6 separate regions of the Homo sapiens genome follow, and regions 2, 3, 4, 5 and 6 are each linked to region 1. The links are contacts of gene promoters, found by promoter capture Hi-C in blood cells and fetal thymus (Javierre and others, 2016). All regions are on one chromosome and are shown on one strand. Each heading gives the region's core, a stretch centred on a gene start or on the middle of the fragment in contact. The rest is flanking DNA. Distances are from core to core; before and after follow the strand shown. Region 1 holds the start of HSPB7 (heat shock protein family B (small) member 7). Region 2 overlaps FBLIM1 (filamin binding LIM protein 1). Region 3 has its middle 6.4 kb from the start of UQCRHL. Region 4 has its middle 11 kb from the start of UQCRHL. Region 5 overlaps SPEN (spen family transcriptional repressor). Region 6 overlaps SPEN (spen family transcriptional repressor).

The links. The method cuts DNA at HindIII sites, captures the fragments that hold promoters and counts their contacts. A CHiCAGO score of 5 or more calls a contact.
Region 2: a contact is called between a fragment that was not itself captured here and the fragment with the promoter of HSPB7 in region 1, in 5 of 17 cell types (endothelial precursors, activated CD4 T cells, naive B cells and 2 more). The highest score is 7.9, in endothelial precursors.
Region 3: a fragment that was not itself captured here is called in contact with the fragment with the promoter of HSPB7 in region 1 in 16 of 17 cell types (endothelial precursors, activated CD4 T cells, M1 macrophages and 13 more); the score reaches 25.8 in endothelial precursors.
Region 4: a contact is called between a fragment that was not itself captured here and the fragment with the promoter of HSPB7 in region 1, in 5 of 17 cell types (endothelial precursors, activated CD4 T cells, total B cells and 2 more). The highest score is 10.9, in endothelial precursors.
Region 5: a fragment that was not itself captured here is called in contact with the fragment with the promoter of HSPB7 in region 1 in 1 of 17 cell types (activated CD4 T cells); the score reaches 6.2 in activated CD4 T cells.
Region 6: a contact is called between a fragment that was not itself captured here and the fragment with the promoter of HSPB7 in region 1, in 1 of 17 cell types (activated CD4 T cells). The highest score is 7.1, in activated CD4 T cells.

Annotation. Positions count from the first base shown.
Region 1 is chr1:16,016,064-16,019,937 of GRCh38, reverse strand. It overlaps HSPB7 (heat shock protein family B (small) member 7), which reads left to right and starts at 1,895. Exons shown (of 3, transcript NM_014424.5): 1 at 1,895-2,173; 2 at 2,731-2,864. The coding sequence starts at 1,975. RefSeq lists enhancers at 1,602-2,346, 2,347-3,093. The HindIII fragment of the contact is 15,911 bases long and covers 1-3,874 here.
Region 2 is chr1:15,777,391-15,781,264 of GRCh38, reverse strand. All of the region lies in intron 8 of FBLIM1 (filamin binding LIM protein 1), which reads right to left. Among named protein-coding and RNA genes, the nearest start is that of FBLIM1, 21 kb to the right of the region's middle. The HindIII fragment of the contact is 1,995 bases long and covers 637-2,631 here.
Region 3 is chr1:15,799,322-15,803,195 of GRCh38, reverse strand. No RefSeq gene overlaps it. Among named protein-coding and RNA genes, the nearest start is that of UQCRHL, 6.4 kb to the left of the region's middle. RefSeq lists an enhancer at 2,668-2,962. The HindIII fragment of the contact is 1,225 bases long and covers 1,407-2,631 here.
Region 4 is chr1:15,817,034-15,820,907 of GRCh38, reverse strand. No RefSeq gene overlaps it. Among named protein-coding and RNA genes, the nearest start is that of UQCRHL, 11 kb to the right of the region's middle. The HindIII fragment of the contact is 8,082 bases long and covers 1-3,874 here.
Region 5 is chr1:15,860,003-15,863,876 of GRCh38, reverse strand. All of the region lies in intron 1 of SPEN (spen family transcriptional repressor), which reads right to left. Among named protein-coding and RNA genes, the nearest start is that of SPEN-AS1, 14 kb to the right of the region's middle. The HindIII fragment of the contact is 3,669 bases long and covers 400-3,874 here.
Region 6 is chr1:15,879,535-15,883,408 of GRCh38, reverse strand. The region is part of intron 3 of SPEN (spen family transcriptional repressor); the gene reads right to left. Among named protein-coding and RNA genes, the nearest start is that of SPEN-AS1, 33 kb to the right of the region's middle. The HindIII fragment of the contact is 3,686 bases long and covers 345-3,874 here.

The DNA.
Region 1 (3,874 bases), core at 646-3,145:
GAAGGGGGAAAAAGGGGAGGAGGAATGGTGGGCGGGGGTGGGTAACGGGATCTGACATCCAGGGGCAGTGACTCAGGCCCTCAGCACCATGACAGTGTGTCTGCATTTAGCCACCGGCTCCTGTTTCCCTGGCGAGCGGCAGGCTCTGGGCCCCCCACCCCGCCCCACCCTCTCTCCATCTCACCTCAGTGCTGGTGGCTTCCCAGCTGCCCTAGAAACCCCTCAGCCAGGCTGGGTGTCACAGGCCCCGACACGGGCAGGAAACTCTGCCAGAGGCAACAGGCCCTGTTGCTCCAGGCAACAGCCTGGCCCGCCGCTGTGCCCTGTGCCCTGCTCTGCTTCCACTCCACATACCACCAGCACCGCTAATACCCCTGTAGAAGGAGCTCTCCAGGATGAAGCTCCAGACTGGGTTGTAGGGGGCTCAGACAAAAGAGAAACTGCCCGTCTTCAAGAACCTTCAATCTAATGGGGAGACAGGTGAACCCTCGCCCCCGTGGGAACTGCCAGTTGGATAGGGAAGAAGGGACACAGCAGAGAGTCACAGCACACAGGAAGACTATGTCACACTGCCAGGTGCTGTGGGAGGACAAAGACAGTCAGTGCTGGGGGCATCTGGACTGGGTGTGGGCCCATGTGAGCAGGAGCAGTCAGAGAGGCCTCCCTGGGGGAGGAGGCATTGGAGCTGATCTGGGACGGAAGGGACGGATTTGGAGAGGACAGCAGAGGCCCTTAACTGCAACCTGGGCAGAGCAGAGGGCCTGGCCGCCTCTCAGAATGGCCTCCACCCTGGCCCAGGGCAAGGTCAGTCCCAGCTTTGCTGAGCAAGCAGGTGGGTAGGGAGGGGCTTCTCTGGCTCTTCCGGGCCAGCCTGTCTCCATAGGCACATGTTCAAACCACCTCGGCCTCTGAAGGGCTTTGGGTCCAACACATCTAGGTTCGAATCCCAGCTCTGCCACTTACGCAACTGCGAGCCCCGCCCTTTCCAAGAGGCTTCGCTTCCCCGTCCGTAACATGGGAAGAGCCCCTCCACCCTCCCAGCTGTGTGGGGATCAAACGGGGCCGTGCTGGACAGCTTGCAGCCAGGAGCCCATGCCCAGAAGGCATTCTAGAACTCAGGGCTAGAATAATTGTCTTCCGGAATTCTCTTTTACCTCTGACTGAAATCCCACCTAAGGCGCTCGCAGGCATCACCTCTGACACAGAGATGGAGCAGACAGTTGCCGGGAACACAACCTTCTAGACCTTTAAGGAGAAAGCTGCCAACTTTGTCCTCTTGGGGCTGCTGAATGTTCTGAGAGTCAGAGGGAGTGCAGGCACAGAATCCAGGTCCCCATGGGGGCTGGCAGGGGACAGCTGCACATTTTACACCCCCTGGCAGGGCTCAACCTTTCCTTAGAGATGGGCTGTGAAGGTTGTCTGCCTTGAGGGAAGGAGCTCCTGACGTCACAGAGCGGTGGTGCTTCCACCTACCCTGTCCCCAAGGAGCCTGCACACTGATGGAGGAGGTACAGCCGTGGAGGAGAACCAGAGTCTGGAGGGGAGGCACAGTCCTCAGGAGCCCCCAGGCTGACGGGGGAAACAAAACACACAATAAACCCCAAACTTGCAAGGTTCTGGGGCAGGCACCGAGGTCCGAGTGGCAAGGAGACAGGATCCAGCCCTGTGCAGTGGTGAGGAGGCCCCTGGGGCTGCTGTGATCAGCCTGGAATGTCAGGCTGTGAGCTCAGCCCTCTCGGCCTGCGTGTCGGGCTGTCAGCAGGGCCGGCGCACGGGAGAAGATTTCCAGCCCCCTCTGGGCCATGGAGAGGCCTAAATTTAGCTAGTAGACAAGGGGCTGGCCCCAAGCCCAGGGACAGTCGGCCTTATAAAGCGGCCGCAGTCGGAGCCTGGCACGCTCGCCCAGAGGCCTGCGCCCACACCCTCTCCTGTCCAGCCCTCGCCCGCCTGGGCAGGGCCCGGCGCCGTCCGTGGATGAGCCACAGAACCTCTTCCACCTTCCGAGCGGAGAGAAGTTTCCATTCCTCTTCCTCTTCCTCCTCCTCTTCCACCTCCTCCTCGGCCTCCCGTGCTCTCCCGGCCCAGGACCCGCCCATGGAGAAGGCCCTGAGCATGTTTTCCGATGACTTTGGCAGCTTCATGCGGCCCCACTCGGAGCCCCTGGCCTTCCCAGGCAAGTGATCCGGGCCCTGAGGGGAGGGGAGGTGCACAGGGAGGGGACGTCTGCTCCAGGGCGCCACCGAAGGCGCTGTGGCTGCCGGTCGGCCTGGAACAGGTGCTGCACAGCCTGCAGCCATGTGTGGCCACCAAGACAGATGTGGCCACAGGGACAGATGTGGCCATGAAAACAGGTGGGCCTCTAAGGAACAGTTGTGGCCCTGGGGGTTGGACATGGTTCCATGGCCACCCATGCTCTGTAACCACAGCCAATCCCAGCTGGAGCCCTGGAGGGCTGGATGGGTGAGCGGTGGGGGGCAGCCCCCAGGCTCCAGGCCTGGGGTGGGGTTGTTACAGACCTAGCCTCATATACACACACACTGTGCTGGGTGAGGCCCCACCCCCACCCCAGAAAAGGTGGGCTGTAGGAATGAGGAGGAGCTTAGGGAGAAACAGCTAGGGGGGAGGTAGGGCCTGGGGGAGCCGCCCCTTGCCCCAAGAGAAGGAGCCAGAACCCCCGGATCTGCATGCAAGGCCTGCTCCATGCCTCGCTCACAGCAGCCCATCCCACAGCCCGCCCCGGTGGGGCAGGCAACATCAAGACCCTAGGAGACGCCTATGAGTTTGCGGTGGACGTGAGAGACTTCTCACCTGAAGACATCATTGTCACCACCTCCAACAACCACATCGAGGTGCGGGCTGAGAAGGTGAGCCCCCCACCCCCTACTCACCGCATCCCAAATTCTGCTCCTGCCTCCAATGTCTCCTACTCCCCCTTACCATCCTGGGACCCCAGACCCTGGCCAGTGTCCCTTCCCCACCCAAACTCCCCCAGGGCTAACTGAAGGCCTTGTCCCTGCAACCCATGGCCATGGGGCCCCCTCACTGCCTCTCTTTGCACCGAGGTTCCCAGATCCTTTCTTCCAGGGCCTGAGCAGCTGAGGGAGCCTCCGAGGAATGGGAGAGGGATGGAGGGATGTGGGCAGAGGGAGCCTGAGGGGGTGGGGCTTGAGGGTGGGAGATGACAGGTGTGAGATGGTGATGGCAGAGTGAGGACAGCTCCTCTGGTAGCTATAGGGGGGCGGATGCGGGTAGGTGGGGAACTCACCTGGGCAGTGGGGGGAGGGGTTTCTCCATGTGACCCACCTCAAGCCCTCTTCCCTCCCACAGCTGGAGACCCATCCCCCATCTTGGGACCCCTAAATTAGGCCCGAGGCTGGGCAGGGGCCCTGCAGTTTCGGGTCACACACACTCCAAACCACACACAGCGCCCGCCCACAGGTCTCAGGGTCACTGGGTCTCTAGCGTGTCTGAGTCCGAACTTCTAGGAGGCACTGGGGCCTCCACCCTGGAGAGGGTATGGCCAGGCCTGAACAGGGGCGTTGCCCAGGGACAGCCACGGCTGCCAGGAGAGAGGAGAGGACCTGACCCAAGCCTCCTCCTAAGCCCCCAAGGACTGGCTTCTTCCCCTCCACATTCAAGGGTGGATTTCTGGGCGTCCCTGCCAGGGATGCCATGGACTGGGGGCACCAAAACCCACAGGCAGCATGTGCCAGCCCTGCCACCCCCAACAGTGACTCAGCCGCCCCAAACTCCCCTGGACACTATGTGCTGGCTGAGTTGCGGGGGAGGGGCCGGCGCTCAGCCCTGGCGGGCAGATGCCCAATGTGCCCGGGGATCCAGGAAGGCACGGCTCTCCTCTGTCACCTCCACGTTC
Region 2 (3,874 bases), core at 385-2,884, 240 kb after region 1:
TGACTCACCCTCCCGAGTAGCTGGGACTACAGACACACGCCACCACACCCAGGTAATTTTTGTATTTTTAGTAGAGATGGGGTTTCACCTTGTTGGCCAGGATGGTCTCCATCTCTTGACCGCCTGCCTCAGCCTCCCAAAGTGCTGGGATCACCAGCATGAGCCACCATGCCTGGCCAAGAAGCCTCATCTTCTGACACATAACTGCTGGAGTCCAAATGCCGACTTACTACACCACCTCGGCCAAGTCATCAAGGACTACCGGGGGGGTTTATTCGCTTCCTGGCCAGGCTCAGGAAGGTGCCAGTCACTGCTGGAACTCGTGAGGATGATGTTGGGGATAACAGCACTTAAACTTCCTCACTGGGCTTTCAAAATGCATTATCAGCAGGACTTTGACCTATAACCAACAAAGACAATGTAATTACTCAGCAATTTATCAACTTCTCTACCCAGCTCCTTTGATAACCTCAGTGAAAATAGCCTCTGGGTTCCAGTATCTGTTTAAATAAATGGGAGTGAACAGGTGTGTCGAAATACTCATCGGCTGAGTAAGAGATCTGCTCTGGGGCTCTCCACTTAGGTCCCCGCATAAAAGTTGCCACCTTGTCACCATCACCGGAGAAGACAGAAGCTTCAGTGACAAGGAGCCAGCTGTAGAAGGGGTGGGAGAGGATTTCTGAGCCTCCTCAGCAGGACTGACTACATAATTTGTACGATCTAGGACAAAATAAAAATGTGGGGCCCCTTGTTCAAAAATTAAGAATTTTGACTGGGTGTGGTGGCTCACGCCACCCAGCACTTTGGGAGGCCAAGGCGGGCAGATCACTTGAGATCAGGAGTTCAACACCAGGCTGGCCAACATGGCGAAACCCCATCTCTACTAAAAATACAAAAAATTACCCGGGCATGGTGGTGTAAGCCTGTCATTCCAGCTACTCAGGAGGCTGAGGCAAGAGAATTGCTTGAACCTGACAGGCAGAGGTTGCAGTGAGCCGAGATAGCGCCACTGTACTCCAGCTTGGGTAACAAAGTGAGACTCAGTCTCTACAAAAAAAAAATTTAAGAATTTCAGGCCGTGCGCAGTGGCTCATGCATGTGATCTCAGCACTTTGGGAGGCCAAGGTGAGAGGATCGCTTGAGCCTAGGAGTTCAAGACCAGCCTGGGCAAATTTTTGTAGAGAAGTCAACTCTACAAAAATTTTAAAAATAAAAAAATTAGCTGGGCGTGGTGGTGCGCACCTGTACTTCCAGCTACTCAGGATGCTAAGGTGAGAGAACTGCTTGAGCCCAAAAGTTCGTTCAAGGCTACAGTGAGCTATGATCACACTACTGCACTCCAGCCTGACTCCAGTCTCTGTCTCTATTAAAAACAAACAAACAAACAAAAATCAAGAATTTAAAGACAGCAATAGCAGAACTTCAAAACTAGCATAGGACCCTTCTGATCACCAAGCCACATGTGATGACTCCTGGGCCCTTCTTCCTGGGACAACTGCACCAGCTTCTAATCAGCTCGCCCATCTCAGCCTGACCCCTCTCTGCAGCCTGAAGTCCAGACTCTCTAGCCTGGCACCATAGTCCTTTCCTTCTCTCTGACCTAATCATTAACCATAACCCCAGCCCTCTACACTCCAGTCACATCTACAAACTTCCACTTCTGGCCGGGTGCAGTGGCTCACACCTGTAATCCCAGCACTTTGGGAGGCTGAGGCAGGTGGATCACTTGAGGTCAGGAGTTCAAGACCAGCCTGGCCAACGTGGTGAAATCTCATCTCTACTAAATACAAAAATTAGTCAGGTGTGGTGGCACATGCCTGTAGTCCCAGCTGCTTGGTAGGCTGAGGCAGGAGAACCGCATGAACCCAGGAGGTGGAGGTTGCAGTGAGCTGAGATCGCACTGGTGCACTCCAGCCTGGGTGACAGAGTGAGACGCCATCTCAAAAAATAAATAAATAAAAATTTAATAAAAACAATTTAAAAGAGACAATTTCTAAGTGAAAAAGTAACATTCAAAAGAGTTGATCTAGGCTGGGTGCAGTGGCTCATGCCTGTAATCCCAGCACTTTGGGAGGCCGAGGCAGGTGGATCACCTGAGGTCAGGAGTTCAAGACCAGCCTGGCCAACATGGAGAAACAACATCTCTACTAAAAATACAAAAATTAGCCGGGCGTGGTGGCACGCACCTGTAATCCCAGCTACTCAGGAGGCTGAGGCAGGGAGAATTGCTTGAACCAGGGAGCTGGAGGTTGCAGTAAGCCAAGATCATGCCACTGCACTCTAACTTGGGAGACAGAGTGAGACTGTCTCAAAAATAAAAAAACGCTGGGCACGGTGGCTCACGCCTGTAATCCCAGCACTCTGGGAAGCTGAGGTGGGCAGATCACCTGAGGTCAGGAGTTTGAGACCAGCCTGACCAACATGGAGAAACCACATCTTTACTAAAAATACAAAACATTAGCTGGGCGTGGTGGTGCATGCCTGTAATCCCAATTACTCGGGAGGCTGAGGCAGGGGAATCGCTTGAACTCGGGAGGTGGAGGTTGCAGTGAGCTGAGATCACGCCATTGCACTCCAGCCTGGGTAACGCGAGTGAAATCCCATCTCAAAAAAAAAAAAGAAAAAGAAGCTTCCACTTCCTCTGATTCTTCAGGCTTGCTCGTGTTACCGTGGATTTTTGTAGCTCTTTTCCCCTTTCTGGACTTCTCCCCTCTATGAATATCTGGCAAACTCCTACTCATCCTGCAAGGCCCAGTCAAGCATTGCCTCCTACATGAGTGCCTTTGATTCTACCATCCTGGTTAGACCATCACTGCCTTCTTTATCCCAAAGCTGATTTATTTTTTATTTTTATTTATTTATTTTTAAGACAGGGTTTCACCATGTTGCCCAGGCTGGTCTCGAACTCGTGAGCTCAAGTAATCCACCCATCTCAGCTTCCCAAAGTGCTGGGATTACAGGTGTGAGGCACTGCACCAGGCCCCCAAAGCTGATTTCTACATTCTCTTGCCCAGCACCTGGAAAAGGCACTGTGGTGTGGATCTGTCCAGCATCCTCTTCTCCCTTCCTCCAGTTGTAACAACCCCTCCTTTTTTATATGGTTCTGCCTCCCTGGCCCCAGTGGTTATCAATCCTAGCACCCCAGCCACAGTGACTGGCCCTGAATGAGCATGTGACCCTAGCTGGGGTGATTAGAGGCCTTCTAGGGACTGTCTGGCTTCCCTGGAGGGGGTGTGCTCTCTCTTTCCCCTAGGGTTTCTAAGCTGGGGAGATGCAAACCTGGGCCACCTATGCCCATGCACTGTGCCCCACCTCCCCACAGAGAAGGCCAGCCCACAGGCAGAGAAAATGAAGCAAACACACAAACAAGGGAGAGCCAAGAGATGGAAAGAGGCTGGGCGTGGTTGCTCATGCCTGTAATCCCAGCACTTTGGGAGGTGGAAGTGGGCGGATCACCTGAGGTCAGGAGTTCCAGACCAGCCTGGCCAACATGGTGAAACCCTGTCTCTACTAAAAATACAAAAATTAGCCAGGTGTGGTGGTGCGCGCCTGTAATCCCAGCTACTCGGGAGGCTGAGGCAGGAGAATTGCTGAACCCTGGAGGTAGAGGTTGCAGTGAGCTGAGATCGCACCACTTCGCTCCAGCCTGGCAACAAGAGTAAGACTGTGTCCAAAAAAAAAAAAAAAAAAAATGGAGAGAGTCCTGATGCCATCGCTCAATACCATCAGTGATCCCAGCACCATGAGCCAACAGATTCCCTTCTCTGGAGAATGCAACTTGAGTCCGGTTTCTTATTAACGCAAAGAGTTGATAATAGACTATGGTTGCATTTCCAGTATCTTTTGTTTCTCCTACTAGACAATGAGCAATTTG
Region 3 (3,874 bases), core at 770-3,269, 220 kb after region 1:
GCAGGAAAATTGCTGGAACCCAGGAGGCAGAGGTTGCAGTGAGCCGAGATCGTGCCAATGCACTCCAACCTAGGCAACAAGAGCAAGACTCCGTCTCAAAAAAAAAAAAAGACAGATAAGGTGTTAAATACCTTCAGTTCAATTAGGGATTGATGAGAGATGGTGTGACCTAAAACATTGTTCTGGGTTGAATTTGGCCTTGTTGCCTGGACTGTCAATATTGTGGTGTTTATCCTCTTAGGGAAGAGAACTCCAAAGACCAGGTCATCTCCTTAATTTGCTTCTCTCACCAGGTGTGGGAATCCAGATTGCCCCAAAATCTTGAGCTGTTAAGGCTGGGAAGAGCCTGAGATGCCATCAGTTCAGCTCAATCCCTAGCTGCTGCCCTGCTCACTTCTGCCAACCCCCGTCTCACAGGCGAGGCTCTGGGAAGGGCAGTGGTTTGCTCAAACCACAAATCAGCCCAGGGCTGGCCACAGTCCTGGGTCCCAGCCAGTAGTTATCTTTTCTCTAAGTTTTGGTCCATTATTTTTCTATCTCATGGATTTATCCTAACTTTTTAGAAAAATGAATTTTAAAAACATATATGGGTTCATATTAGAAAAGTATCATTGTAGCAGGATGAGCCTCAGACAAGAACCCCTCAGAAACCGAGTTGTAGAAGGAAAGGGCTTTATTCAGCTGGGAGCATCGGTGGATTCACGTCTCCAAAAGCCGAGCTCCCCGAGTGAGCAATTCCTGTCCCTTTTAAGGGCTTACAACTCTAAGGCGGTCCGCGTGAGAGGGTCGTGATCGATTGAGTAAGCAGAGGGTACGTGACTGGGGGCTGCATGCACTGGTAATCAGAACGGAAAGGAAGAGGACAGGGATTTTCACGACGCTTTTCCATACAATGTCTGAAATCTATAGATAACAGAAGAGTTAGGTCGGGGTTGATTTTTAACTCCAGGCCCAGGGTGCAGTGCTGGGCTATCTGCCTGTGGATTCCATTTCTGCCTTTTAGTTTTTACTACTTCTTTCTTTGGATTCAGAAATTGGGCATAAGACAATATGAGGGGTGGTCTCCTCCCTTATCATGTGCTTACTGTAAAAAAATCAGAGTTGGGCACAGTGGCTCACACCTGTAATCCCAGCACTTTGGGAGGCTGAGGCGGGAGAATCACTTGAGCCCAGGAGTGCAAGACCAGCCTGAGCAACACAGTGAGTCCCTATCTCTACAGAAAAAAAAAGAAAAATCAAAAGTTATCCAGGCAAGATGGTGTGCGCCTATGGTCCAGCCTACTCAAGAGGCTGAGGCTGGAGGATGGCTTGAGCCCAGAAGGTCAAGGCTGCAGTGAGCCATGATCGCACCATTGCACTCCAGCCTGTGTGACAGAACGAGACCCTGTCTCAAAAAAAAGAAAGCTTTAAAAGGGTGAATTTTGTATGTGTGATTCATATCTCAGTAAAGCTGTTATTAAAAAAAATAAATAAATAAAAGCAGGCCGCCGGGCATAGTGGCTCACACCTGTAATCCCAGCACTTTGGGAGGCTGAGGTGGGCAGATTACCTGAGGTCAGGAGTTTGAGACCAACCTGGCCAACATGATGAAGCCCCGTATTTACTAAAAATACAAAAATTAGTGGGAATAGTGGTGGGTGCCTGTAATCACAGCTACTCAGGAGGCTGAGGCAGGAGAATCGCTTGAACCTGGGAGGCAGAAGTTGCAGTGGGCCAAGATTGCCCCACTGCACTCCAGCCTGGGCAATAGAGTGAGACTCCATCTCAGAAAAAAAAAAAAAAAAGCTAGAGAGAAGAAAGTAAAATATCCTTTGAGTCACCCAACCCCAGACTGCAAGTAGCCACTCATTCATTCCACAAATACTCTCTGAGGGCCTGTTCTATGCAGGCTATGTGCCAAGGGTTTACACCCTAGGAGCAGTGCCACCCCAGTATCTGTCCCCCGTGACCAGTGACTGCCCCTCCTCTATAATATCTATTGACTGACCTCTCTGACCTCACCTCATTTCTTTCCTCCAGTGCCCCGGCTCCAGCAGTCCATGGATCCTGCCCCCTTTGCATGTCCCTCAGCCTGCCTGCCCTCCGTGTCCTTCCTGCCCAGCCTACAATTCATGGTCAGGCCCCACCCCCACCCCCTCCTGCGGTCCTGACAAAACCCCAACACTGGTCAGTCCCACTGCTCCACCTCCACCGCATCTCACCTGCACTTGCGCAGCTCAATGTCACACCACCTTGCCAGCTGCTTCCCTTTCAACTCATGACACAAAACCCAAGAGGGCCCTTAGTGGATGTCAGGATCAGTCACTGTCCCCATGACCCTTGCACCCCTCTTTTCTCCTCTCTATAAAATAAGGGTGATAATATTTCTGTCTCCCGGGGCTGTTGGCAGCATCAGTAGTAGGTCCTTGCTCGGGGGCAGCTACTGGGGTTAGTTCCTCTGGTGCTCAGTCCAAGAGTTCCCTGGTGTCTTGGTGTCCGCGGAGTCCCACCCTGCGGTCATTTATTTTGTTCCGCTGGTTGGGCAGGCCTGGGCTCTCTGCCAGATCTGATCATCCTCCCAGAGACAGGAGGGAACGGAATGTGGCACCAGGCAGTAAGACGCATGGCTGAGCTCAGCAGGAGAGGGAAGCTTCCAACTTCCTGCAGCGAATGTCCTAGGTGATAGGTCAAGTCTGACCCCGCCAGTGAGGCCAACATGGAAACTTACTAGGGCCTCGAAAAGGTGTGTGTGGGAGTTCAGAGAGGAGTGGAGACAGCCGGCCTCCCAATCTGGACCCACAGGGCAGGGCAGGGAGAGGAGATGGCCCCGCCTCCAGGAATCCAGGCTGCACCTCCCTCCAGGGAACTCAGATCAAAGCCAGGAGGAAGGAGGAGTGTGAACTTTGCACCCAGTGACTCACTGCATCCCCCTAGGGCAAGTGCTCTCACCCGTGCAGAATCCTGCCCTCCTTGCCACTGACGGGACCATCCGCACTGGGTCAGCCTATGAGCAACACTGACCTGATTCACCTGCACGCCTTCATTCCCCCACCTTCATCCTCCTCCTCGCAGAGGTGATCAGATGTTTGCAGGTGCCTGCCTGTGTTTACAAGTAGGTCTTGGAAGATAAGAGAGGCGGTGGGAGGGGTGGGAAAGCCCTGTTCTGGCAGTCAGGACACCCAGGGCTTGGCCACTAACCAGCTGTGTGAGCTCGGCCGGTCTCACACCCTCTCTGGGCCCGGCCACCACCTCTGTGGTTATGGGCAGTTGGACTCTATGGCAAGTTCATCTGCCCTACCGGCTTGGGGTTCTACCGGCTTGGGGTTCTACTGGCTTGGGGTTCTTCCTTCTCACCGTTGCCCCCCTGGGAAAAAGCCCCAATCCTGGCACAGAGTCTAGGAAGCCTTGCTGCTTTGGTTCCTGCCTGAGTCTGGCCCTCATCCTGCACTTCCCACATGCTCAGCCACATTCAGCTGTGCCCAGCTCAGAGAGCAAGCGCCTGGATAGCTCTTGTTCCAGAGCCTCGCCTGGCTGACCCCTGCACACCCTTTAGGCCCAGCTCTGACATCACTTTCTCCATGGCCTGCCCTCCTGGACTCCTGGCTGTGCCTCCCCAGCACGGACTGTTCTCTTTTCTCCTTTTTCCATTAAACTGAGCTCTGTGCCAAGGGCAGTGACTGGCAGATGGGAGGGGTCAATGAGTATTTTATTAAAGAGTGAGTGAATGAATGAACAAATGAATGAATGAAGCGGGATCTCTAGGCACACTGGAGTGGAGCCACTGTTTGCTTTCTGCCCGTGGGACTTGATTTGAAGCCATCTCAGGGTGGGCCATTGGGAGTTCTACCTTGCCAAGGAGGGGTTGCTGGTCAGAGGGGTGCTGGAAGCGGGGGGG
Region 4 (3,874 bases), core at 200-2,699, 200 kb after region 1:
ACTCCTGGGTACAAGGGATCCTCCCCTCTCTGCCTCAGCCTCCCAGGTGTCTGTGAATACAAGAGCATGCCACCACCCCCGGCTAATTTTAAAATTTTTTGTAGAGACAGGGTCTCACTGTGTTGCCCAGTCTGGGAGTAGGGAATGGATGTGGGTTGGAGAGTGGAAAGAATTGACAGGATGACCTGAGCCCTGAAGTAGGAGGGAAGGGCTGCATAAGCAAAGGAACTGGCTTTCGATAGTTCAGCTAGTAGAGGACTGGAGGATGGAATGTATGGGGGCAGATGCTGGCAAGCAAATGTGGTTGAGCAAGTCCATGCCAGAAATGCCACAAATTTACCAAGAGACAGAGTCAAGATAATTATCTATGCTGGCTGGGCACCATGGTTCACGCCTGTAATCCCAACACTTTGGGAGGCCAAAGCAGGTGGATCACCTGAGGTCAGGAGTTCAAGACCAGCCTGGCCAACATGGTGAAACCCCATCTCTACCAAAAAAAAAAAAAAAATACAAAAATTAGCTGGGCGTGGTGGCGCATGCCTGTAGTCTCAGCTACTCAGGAGGCTGAGGAAGGAGAATTGCTTGAACCTGGGAGGTGGAGGTCGCAGTAAGCCGAGATCACGCCATTGCAGTCCAGCCTTGGCGACAGAGCGAGACTCCGTCTCAAAAAAAAAAAAAAAATCTATGCTTCATTTTTCCAAATTAAGATAGAAAAAATGATAGAATACACCAGTCAAAATGATTGGATTCACCTTCTGTGTTCTTGGGCAAGTTACATAAACATTTTTGTAGGGTCTTGGTGTGTTTTCTTTTTGTCTGAATGGTCATCTTCTAGACTAGTGCCTGGCAAACAGTAGTTGCTCGACAAATATTCATTGAGTTAATTTTAGAAATTTATTAAATCTATTAAGTATATATAACACATCTACCCCACAGGATTGTTTTGAACATTCAATCAAATCAGATAATAGATGTAAACGTGCTTTATAATCTGAGAAATACTATTTAAACTGTTTATGTTAATATGAGGATAAAGTCCACTGAGTTTTTTTACTTCTTTTTTTTTTTTTTGTGACAGAGTCTCGCACTGTCGCCAGCGCTGGAGTGCAGTGGCGTGATCTCAGCTCACTGCAACCTCCACCTCCCGGATTCAAACGATTCTTCTGCCTCAGCCTCCCAAGTAGCTGGGATTACAGATGCCCCCCACCACGCCCAGCTAATTTTTTGTATTTTTAGTAGAGATGGGGTTTCACTATCTTGGCCAGGCTGGTCTCAAACTCCTGACCTCGTGATCTGCTCGCCTCGGCCTCCCAAAGTGCTGGGATTACAGGCATGAGCCACCACGCCCGGCTTTTTTTACTTCTTTTCTTTTTTTTGTTTTTGAGACAGAGTCTCGCTCTGTCGCCCAGGCTGGAGTGCAGTGGCACAATCTTGGCTCACTGCAAGCTCCGCCTCCCGGGTTCACACCATTCTCCTGCCTCAGCCTCCCGAGTAGCTGGGACTACAGGCGCCCACCACCATGCCCAGCTAATGTTTTGTATTTTTAGTAGAGATGGGGTTTCACCGTGTTAGCCATGATGGTCTCAATCTCCTGACCTTGTGATCCACATGCCTCGGCCTCCCAAAGTGCTGGGATTACAGGCGTGAGCCACCATGCCCGGCTTTTTTATTTCTTAAATGGATTTTTTTAAAAGCATAGAGGAATACACCAAGACTCTAATGATTCTGTCAACTGCTTTGAAATTCATGGATGGAGTATAATAATATTTTACAAAATAGTTTTGCCCTATAAAACCATATAGTATTACAGAACTGTCTGTGTTGTTTTTTTGTTTGTTTGTTTTTTGAGATAAAGTCTCACTCTGTCACCCAAGCTGGAGCACAGTGACACAATCTCGGCTCACTGCAACCTCCACCTCCTGGGTTCAAGTGATTCTCCTGCCTCACCCTCCTGAGTAGCTGGGATTACAGGTGTGCGCCACCACGCCCGGCTCATTTTTTTTGTATTTTTAGTAGAGACAGGGTTTAACCATTTTGGCCAGGCTGGTCTTAAACTCCTGACCTCAAATGATCCTCCCCTCTCGGCCTCCCAAAGTGCTGGGATTACAGGCGTGAGCCACTGCACCTGGCCCTATAGAACTGTTAAAAGCATAAAAAGGCCAGGATCAGTGGCTCATGCCTGTCACCCCAGCACTTTGGGAGGCCAAAGTGGGGGGATCGCTTGAGGCCAGGAGTTCAAAAAAGACAGCATACAAAGCTGTGAAGTCAATTAGCTTTATGTCATAAATTAAATCCCGAATTACATTTATAATGCTGGGCACGTGAGTGTTATATTACATCTTTTTATTTTTATCTTTTTTTTTTTAGACAGGATCTCACTCTCTCACCCAGGCTGGAGTACAGTGGCATGATCATAGCTCATTGCAACCTCTTCACCTCCTGAGCTCAAGCCATCTTCCCCCCTCAGCCTCCCACGTAGCTGGGACTAGAGGCACACACCACGCTGCCCTGCTAGTTTTTGTATTTTTTGTAGAGATGGGGTTTTGCCCTGTTGCCCAGGCTGGTCTTAAACTACTGGGCTCAAGCAATCCACCTGCCCTGGCATCCCAAAGTGCTGAGGTCAGAGCCACTGCACCCACCTAGCCGTCTTTTTTCTTTTCTTTCTTCTTGGTAGCTTATAATTTCCAAAGCAAATGCAGCATTAGAGTTGTAACTTTTCTGTGTAACATAATTAAGTTGTTTTTTTTTGAGATGGAGTCTCGCTCTGTTGCCCAGGCTGGAGTGCAGTGGCATGATCTCAGCTCACTACAACCTCCACCTCCCGGGTTCAAGCTATTCTCCCACCTCAGCCCCTTGAGTAGCTGGGACTACAGGCACACGCCACCACGCCTGGCTAATTTTTTTTGTATTTTTAGTAGAGACGGGTTTCACTATGTTGGCCAAGCTGGCTTGAACCCCTGACCTCTGGTGATCTACTCACCTCAGCCTGCCAAAGTCCTGGGGCTACAGGTGTGAGCCACTGTGCCTGGCCAGAATTAACTTTTAAATGTATGGATATTTCTGCTACGGATTTCTTAATTCCTTCCTAACTAATCATACCCCAAGTAAACTGAACTATTCATTTTCATGATAAGTCTGTATGGTCTTCCTGAATATTATAGGAGTGATCTGAACCAAAGTTCTAGCTGATAAAAATTTTGTAAAAATCTAATTCAGTGCATTTCCATTGTCTCATGCATTCCAGGGACTAAAGTAAGTAATATTCTTGATTGCTGAAGTTTGAAGGCAGTTTCCTGTCTGCTGAGGTTTTATTTCTAGAAGCCCTTATCATTGGTCCTGATAGAATATCTGCAAGGAGAAATGAATCAACTCACGCCATCATTTTCACATTTATCATTACCACTGGAGATTAAGATATTACATAATTAGCCAAGGTCATATAAAAGGATTCATTGGAACAATTTAGGATTAAATTTAGGAATTATACATTAGGAACTCATTGGGATTCCCATATGTTTAAGTGTTGCAATATGGGGATGTTTAATTACGCTACTAGCCTAGTTCCTGCTATTAACCCAGCACCAGGCCTTTCAAGATTATTTAGAAAAAATGCTCAGGCCAGGCGTGGTGGCTCACGCTTATAATCCCAGCACTTTGGGAGGCAGAGGCAGGCGGATCACCTGAGGTCATAAGTTCAAGACCAGCCTGGCCAACATGGTGAACCCCCGTCTCTACTAAATATATTTTTTAAAAGATTAGCTGGGTGTGGTGGCGGTCGCCTGTAATCCCAGCTACTTGGGAGCCTGAGGCAGGAGAATCGCTTGAACCCGGGAGGCAGAGGTTGCAGTGAGCCGGGATCACATCATTGCACTCC
Region 5 (3,874 bases), core at 985-3,484, 160 kb after region 1:
AACATAATAGATTAGTTTTTTTGTTTGTTTTGTTCTAAGACAAGGGTTTGCTCTGTTGCCCAGGCTGGAGTGCAGTGGTGCAATCATGGCTCACTGCAGCCTCAACCTCCCAGGCTCAAGCAATCCTCCTATCTCAGCCTCCTAAGCAGCTGGGACTACAGGCAGGCACCACCACACCCAGCTGATGTTTTTGTTTTCCATAGAGATGAGGTCTCAACATGTTGCCTAGGCTGGTCTCCAATTCCTGGACTCAAGCAGTCCTCTAGTCTCGGTCTCCCAAAGTGCTGGGATTACAGGTATGAGCCACTGCACCCAGCCAGATTACTTTTTTATATTAGAAACTATTTATTGGTTCTAAGTAGAAAGGCTTTAAGAAAATGTTAAGACCAAGAATAAGCTTAATTCAACCAATAAAACTATACCCCTATCTGTTTACTGAATCCAGGGTGAGTGCCTAGATTCCTGAACATAGAAAACTTGATAATTACAACTCCTGGGAAAAGGCATCTGTTTCCAGTAAAGCTCTGAATGCAGACATTCTTCAGAACTATTGCAGGCTTCATTACTCCAGTAAGGAAAAAAATTATATGTGTCTGTGTGTGTGTGCATGTGCAGTTTTGTTTTGTTTTTCTGAGACAGCGTCACTGTCACCCAGGCTGGAGTCCAATGGCACAATCTTGGCTCACTGCAGCCTCAACCTCCCAGGTTCAAGTGATCTGCCCGCCTAAGCCTTCCAAGTAGCTGGACTATAGGTACATACCACCATGCCCAACTACCTTTTATTACCCACTGAGAATGGGAAAAGTGCTGGGATTCGGCCGGGAGCGGTGGCTCACACCTGTAATCCTACCACTTTGGGAGGCTGAGGTAGGCAGACCACAAGGTCAGGAGATCGAAGCCATCCTGGCTAACACAGTGAAACCCCATCTCTACTAAAAATACAAAAAGTTAGCCAGGAATGGTGGTGGGCACCTGTAGTCCCAGCTACTCAGGAGGCTGAGGCAGGAGAATGGCGTGAACCTGGGAGGCGGAGCTTACAGTAAGCTGAGATTGCATCACTGCACTCTAGCCTGGGCGACAGAGCGAGACTCCGTCTCAAAAAAAAAAAAAGCAGAAAGTGCTGGGATTACAGGCATGAGCTACCCGCACTTCACCGAAAAAAAATTATTTATGCACATACATACTCACATTATATTTTACTCCAATCTAATGAAAAATTATTTATTAAGTAAAATTAACTTTTAACAAAGGGACAGTGTTCAACTGACAAACCTCTCAAAAGATTGTCAAATTATGAGGAGAAAAATTCCAAAGTTTCTGTAATCTTTAGATTCTACTGGTTAGAGCAAATAAAAAGCCTGAATATTTTAGACAATCTTGGAAAAAATTCACAGTGTGCTTCCTCCCCAGAGAACAAGACAGGAGTTTATACTGCAAGAATCAAAAAGTAAAGTGCAGGAATATAAATAATCACGATGACCATTAAGCTAACATTCGGACACTATTCTCACAATAATTAATGAGTAGCTTTCATAAATGTATCTGATTTACATAGTACTTTTCTAGGAAGAACTGAAGTATAATTGTAAATAGAACTGCTAATAACCAAAATAAAACATTTATTAAAGTAATGACAGTAAACAAAGCACTTAGATTAAGAAAAAAGGTGCAAGGCAAGCTGATCCAAACACGAAGGCTACAAAACACAAAGCTGAAGTTAGCAGAAGCCAAGAGACTAAATCATAAATTAGCAAAAATCCACATCAAGAGTCCCTCAAAAGGCCAAGAATGGTGGCTAACTCCCGCAATTTTTGTTTTTTGTTTTTTTATTTTTTGAGACGGAGTCTCACTCTGTCACCCAGGCTGGAGTAAAGTGGCGCAATCTCAGCTCACTGCAACCTCGGCCTCCCAGGTTCAAGCGATTCTCCTGCCTCAGCCTCCTGAGTAGCTGTGATTACAGGCATGTGCTACCACGCCCAGCTAATTTTTTCATATTTTTAGTAGAGACGGGGTTTCACCATATTGACCAGGCTGGTCTCAAACTCCTGACCTTGTGATCCACCCGCTTCAGTTTCCCAAAGTGCTGGGATTACAGGAGTGAGCCACCGCACCCGGCCCAGTCCTGTTATTTCAGCATTCTGGGAGGCCAAGGTGAGAGGATGTTTAAAGCAAGGAGTTTTGAGACCAGCCTGGAAACACAGCAAGACCCTGTCACTACTCCCCCCACAAAAAAAAGAGAGTCCTTGCTGGGAATGGAAAGGACTCTAAAAAGGTGCTTACTAATACTGTTATTTACAGTACAACTGCTGAGAAGGAAATCAGCTTCTATCCTTAGGACTTACTTTTCAGTAAAATAATAATTTTTTAAAACTATGGGAAATATACAAATATTTCTAATATTTCACTTAACTAGTGACTTTTATCCTTACTCCATAAAAAAGTATCTGGGCCAGGCACGCTGGCTCACACCTGTAATCCCAGCATTTTGGGAAGCCGAGGTAGGTGGATCATGAGGTCAGGAGTTCGAGACGAGCCTGGCCAACATACTGAAACCCCGTTACTACTAAAAATACAAAAATTAGCCAGGTGTGGTGGCATGTGCCTATAGTCCTAGGTACTTGGGAGGCTGAGGCGGGAGAATCGCTTGAACCCGGGAGGTGGAATGCAGTGAGCCGAGACCACACCATCTGCACTCCAGCCTAGGTGACAGAGTGAGATTCCGTCTCAAAAAAAAAAAAAAAAGTCACTCAGCCTGACCAATGTGATGAAACCCCATCTCTACCAAAAAGCAATTTTTTAAAAAAATTAGCTGGACATGGTGGCACGCAACTGTAGTCCAAGCTACTTGGGAGGCTGAGGTGGCAGAATCAATTGAACCCAGGAGGCAGAGATTGCAGTGAGCCAAGACCGTGCCACTGCTCTCCAGCCTGGGCCACAGAGTAAGACTGTCTCAGAAACAAAACAAAACAAAACAAAAGTCCGGGCACAGTGGCTCACTCCTGTAATCCTGGCACTTTGGGAGGCCGAGGCAGGCGGATGACAAGGTCAGGTTATCGAGACCATCCTGGCCAACATGGTGAAACCCCGTCTCTACTAAAATACAAAAAATTAGCCAGGCATCGTGGCATGTGCCTGTAGTCCAGCTACTCAGGAGGCTGAGGCAGGGGAATCGCTTGAATCCGGGAGGTGGAGGTTGCAATGAGCCAAGATTGTGCCACTGCACTCCAGCCTGGAGACAGAGCAAGACTCCATCTCAAAAAAAAAAAAGTCACTAATAGCCAGACTCACACACCTGTAATGGTCACACCTGTAATCCCAGCACTTCGGGAGGCTGAGGCGGGAGGATATCCTGAGACCAGGAGTTTGAGACCATCCTGGGCAATACAGTGGGACCTTATCTACACACACACACACACACACACACACACACACACTACAGTGGGACCTTAGCTACACATACACACACACACACACACACACACACACACACACACACACCTCTGAAGCTACTTGGGAGGCTGAGATGAGAGGGTCACTTGATGAGCCTGGGAGGTTGAGGCTGCAGTGAGCTGGGATTATACCACTCCCCTCCAACCTGGGTAACAGAACAAGGCTGTCTCAAAAAGAAAAACAGTCACTGAAGTCTATGCCTTAAGATGTTAACTACGCCAGGCACGGTGGCTCACGCCTGTAATCCCAGCACTTTGGGAGGCCGAGGCGGGCGGATCACGAGGTCAGGAGATCGAGACCATCCTGGCTAACACAGTGAAACCCCGTCTCTACTAAAAATACAAAAAATTAGCCGGGTGTGGTGGCGGGCGCCTGTAATCCCAGCTACTCAGGAGGCTGAGGCAGGCGAATGGCATGAACCCGG
Region 6 (3,874 bases), core at 938-3,437, 140 kb after region 1:
TGCAAAGCTAACACACTGGAGAAGAGAGAGACATAAGACTTTCCATATCTTAACATGGCAGAAGAGCTGAAAAGTTTGGTTACTTGAAGTTCTTCTATATGCTTTCCTTGTTACTTTAAGCAAACACCACAAAGGGTTTCACATGTCTGCTTCCCCGCCCAGGAACTGTGTGTGTGTCTTTCTTTCCCCCATTCCTGTTCCCAAGCTTCTCCCTTATATCTTCTAGCTTATGACAATGCAAAGTAAATTTTAATAATGTAACAACTATATAATGAAAATGTGAGAAATACATTTTTTAAAAATCAGCTCATTCTAATTTTTAAAATCTATTTAAGAAGAAAGCTTGCTCTAAAATTCCAATCTCTGGTGGGTGCAGTGACCCTGTCACCCATTGCCTCCTTTCCCCTCTCTCTTCTGGGAAGAAGGGGGTTTCCTGCTGAGGAGGGAAGGGAAACTTCATCCTAGCCCCATGACTCAGACTTGGTTGGACCCTGGGGGAACCAAGAGCCCCAGGGGGGCTGTGGCCTGTGATGCTGCCAAGCAGAGCCATGAGGGCCTACCAACCTACTCTTCTGCCATCACTCTGAAACTTGAGCATTACCCAACACCTGCCAGCCCTCTAGGCTGTGCCTTTCATCCTAGTACAGGTGTGTCCCATTGTATATGCCCAGTTTGCGTCAGCTGTCCACACCATCTAGTTAGTACCTGTGCATTCCTCGGCTCATGGCAAATAAGAATTTTCTTTTTTTGAAATGGAGTCTTGTTCTGTTGCCCAGGCTGGAGTGCAGTGGTACGATCTTGGCTCACTGCAACCTCCATCTCCCAGGTTCAAGCGATTCTCGCACCTCAGCCACCATAGTAGCTGGGATTACAGGCGCCCACCACTACACCTGGCTAATTTTTGTATTTTTAGTAGAGATGGGGTTTCACCATCTTGGCCAGGCTGATCTTGAATTCCTGACCTCATGATCTACCCGCCTCAACCTCCCAACGTGCTGGGATTACAGGTGTGAGCCACTGCACCTGGCCTAAAGGAAATTCTTACAACTTGATTGGGGGGGCGGGAATCCAATAATAGGGAACTATAGAAATAAAGTATGTTCAACTTCAATCAAGGGATTTTAAAATAAATGCTTCTGTGGAATTTACGCATTTAAAATGTTCTGTTGAAAGGAAATGTGGCTCAATAAACGGCCATGACAGAGAAACAAAAAGACGTCGAGCAGTACATAGCAGCACATGGAGCCATGAAGGCCCAGTTCTCACCAGTAAAATACTGTAAATGGTTTTGCAGAAACAATAGATGTGTTATTTATAAGGACTTCACAACTAGACTGCCATTAATCCCATGTTTACTCATCTGAAATACCCCACTAGCAATCTCTTCATCAAAAGTGTAACTATTAATAAGGATGGAGGGTGATTAATTTCCCCATCAGTCATGGAGACAGAAGACAAACTTGTTTCCATAGGTAAAACCAAGCTATATTTTGTCCACTATACGAGTGCTAACTTTAAACATCTTTAAAGGACTTTCAGGAATGTCACAGTTTCACAAGTTGTAAAGATCACAAGAAATAACTTATTTCTTCCAAAAGGAAAACTGAACATTCTGAATTTCATAACATCTCAAAATATTACACTTTGAATTCAATATAATTAAAGAGGAAAAGAGAACATCTGATAAAAGGGAATAATGTAAACTGAACACCAGAGGATTATTTCTGTACACTTGCTTCAATCACAATTTAAATGACAAAAACTTTTAGCTATCTACATCAATTTTGCTTTATCCTTCATGTTAACTAAGAACTGTATCTAAGTATTTCAACTACTTATTGGACATGTATTCTGAGAAAGGCAATATACTAGGTTCTGTGATATGCATTCAGGCCACTCAGTCTTGTTCTTTCATATCACCAGAAAGTTCATTCTGCTTTTTACACATCAGGATAATCTGATTCTTAATACAATGTCTCTCCCACCTGTTCCAAATTTTCCTTCTCTGAGGTACCAAGAGTAGGAAAAACAGAGATTATGGATAAGTCACCAGTTGCCTTTCTAAAGCAGAGATCTCAACAAGCTATCTCCTTTCTTAAATCTTTTAATGGCCCTCTCTGCATACAGAATAAAACCCAAAAGTTGGGCGTGATGGCTCACACCTGTAATCCTAGCACTTGGGAGGCAGAGGAGGGAAGATCGCTTGAAGCCAGGAGCTCAAGACCAGCCTGGACAACAAAGTGAGACTTTGTCTCTACGAAAAATTTAAAAATTAGCAAGGTGTAAGTGATGTGCACCTATAATCCCAGCTACTCAGGAGACTGAAACAGGAGGATGGTTTGAGCCCAGGAGCTATGACCACTGCACTCCAGCAGCCTGGGCAACAGAGCAGGATTCTGTCTCTTCAAAATAAAAAAAAAATCATTACCACAGTTAAATCATTCTAAATTATCTGCTATGCTCAAAACATCCTTCCACCTCAGGTTGTTCCTTCTGCCCACAGTGTTCCCTGTCTAGCCTAAACCTCCTCTCTTCTTGTTGAAGTCCTGCATATCCTTCATAGCCTAACCAAATGCTACCTATCAGGTCTTCCCAGCAGTCAAAAGATTTATCTCACTGTTCTTTTTATGTATAGATACAAAAGCTATCATTGGCCGGGCACAGTGGCTCATGCCTGTAATCCCAGCACTCTGGGAGGCTGAGGTGGGTGGATCACTTGAGGTCAGGAGTTCGAGACCAGCCTAGCCAATGTAGTGAAACCCCTGTCTCTACTAAAAAATACAAAAATTAGCCGGGCATGGTGGCAGTGCCTGTAATCCCAGCTCCTCAGGAGGCTGAGTCAAGAGAATCGCTTGAACCCGAGAGGCAGAGGTTGCAGTGAGCCAAGATTGCGCCACCGCACTCCAGCCTGGGCGAGAGTGAGACCCTGTCTCAAAAAAAAAAAAAAAAAAAAAAGCTATAATTACATAAAATTTGTCACATCAGTGAAACTAGAAGGAATCAATAAGTTAATGAATGAGGTTCAAGTAACTCACTAAAAGCAACATGTAAATATAGGGTTGAAATCTGTTAGCTCTAGAAAATATGACTATATATGAAATGAAACCAATAACCTAAGTAAATGCTCTATAACCTCTCAGAAGGGAAAAAAAAATAGTGATTTATAAAAAGGAAGAATCTACACAGACATAAGACAGTGGTAACAGAGCAAGAATCTCTCAGTGATTCTTCCCCAAGCCCACGGTAAGAAGGTGCCTTCAACCAGCAGATTTCAGTATGCCTTACTTCCTTGTCAGGTATGGTCCTACAGTGCAAATCAGAGGGAAAAAAACATACAAGAGCCCAAATCTGGCCTTTTAGGTGGAAATTCCAATTTTTTAAACACTGGCAATAATTTAAATTTAAAACACTATACAAGGTGAATTAAATTTGTCTGCTGGGCCAGGCGCGGTGGCTCACGCCTGTAATCCCAGCACTTTGGGAGGTCGAGGCGGGCGGATGGCGAGGTCAGGAGATCAAGACCATCCTGGCTAACACGGTGAAACCCCATCTCTACTAAAAATACAAAAAATTAGCTGGGCGTGGTAGCGGGAGCCTGTAGTCCCAGCTACTCGAGAGGCTGAGGCAGAAGAATGGCGTGAACCCGGGAGGTGGAGCTTGCAGTGAGCCGAGATCGTGCCACTGCATTCCAGCCTGGGTGACAGAGCGAGACTCCGCCTCAAAAAAAAAAAAATTTGTCTGCTGGTCAGATGTCACCCTCCAGACTTCTAGGTTGTAGCCTTTGGTATATAAATGAATACATCTAGCTACCCTAACTTGATAAAATAATCATCAAAAATCCTCTTTCTCACTAACTTTTTTATTGTAATTTACT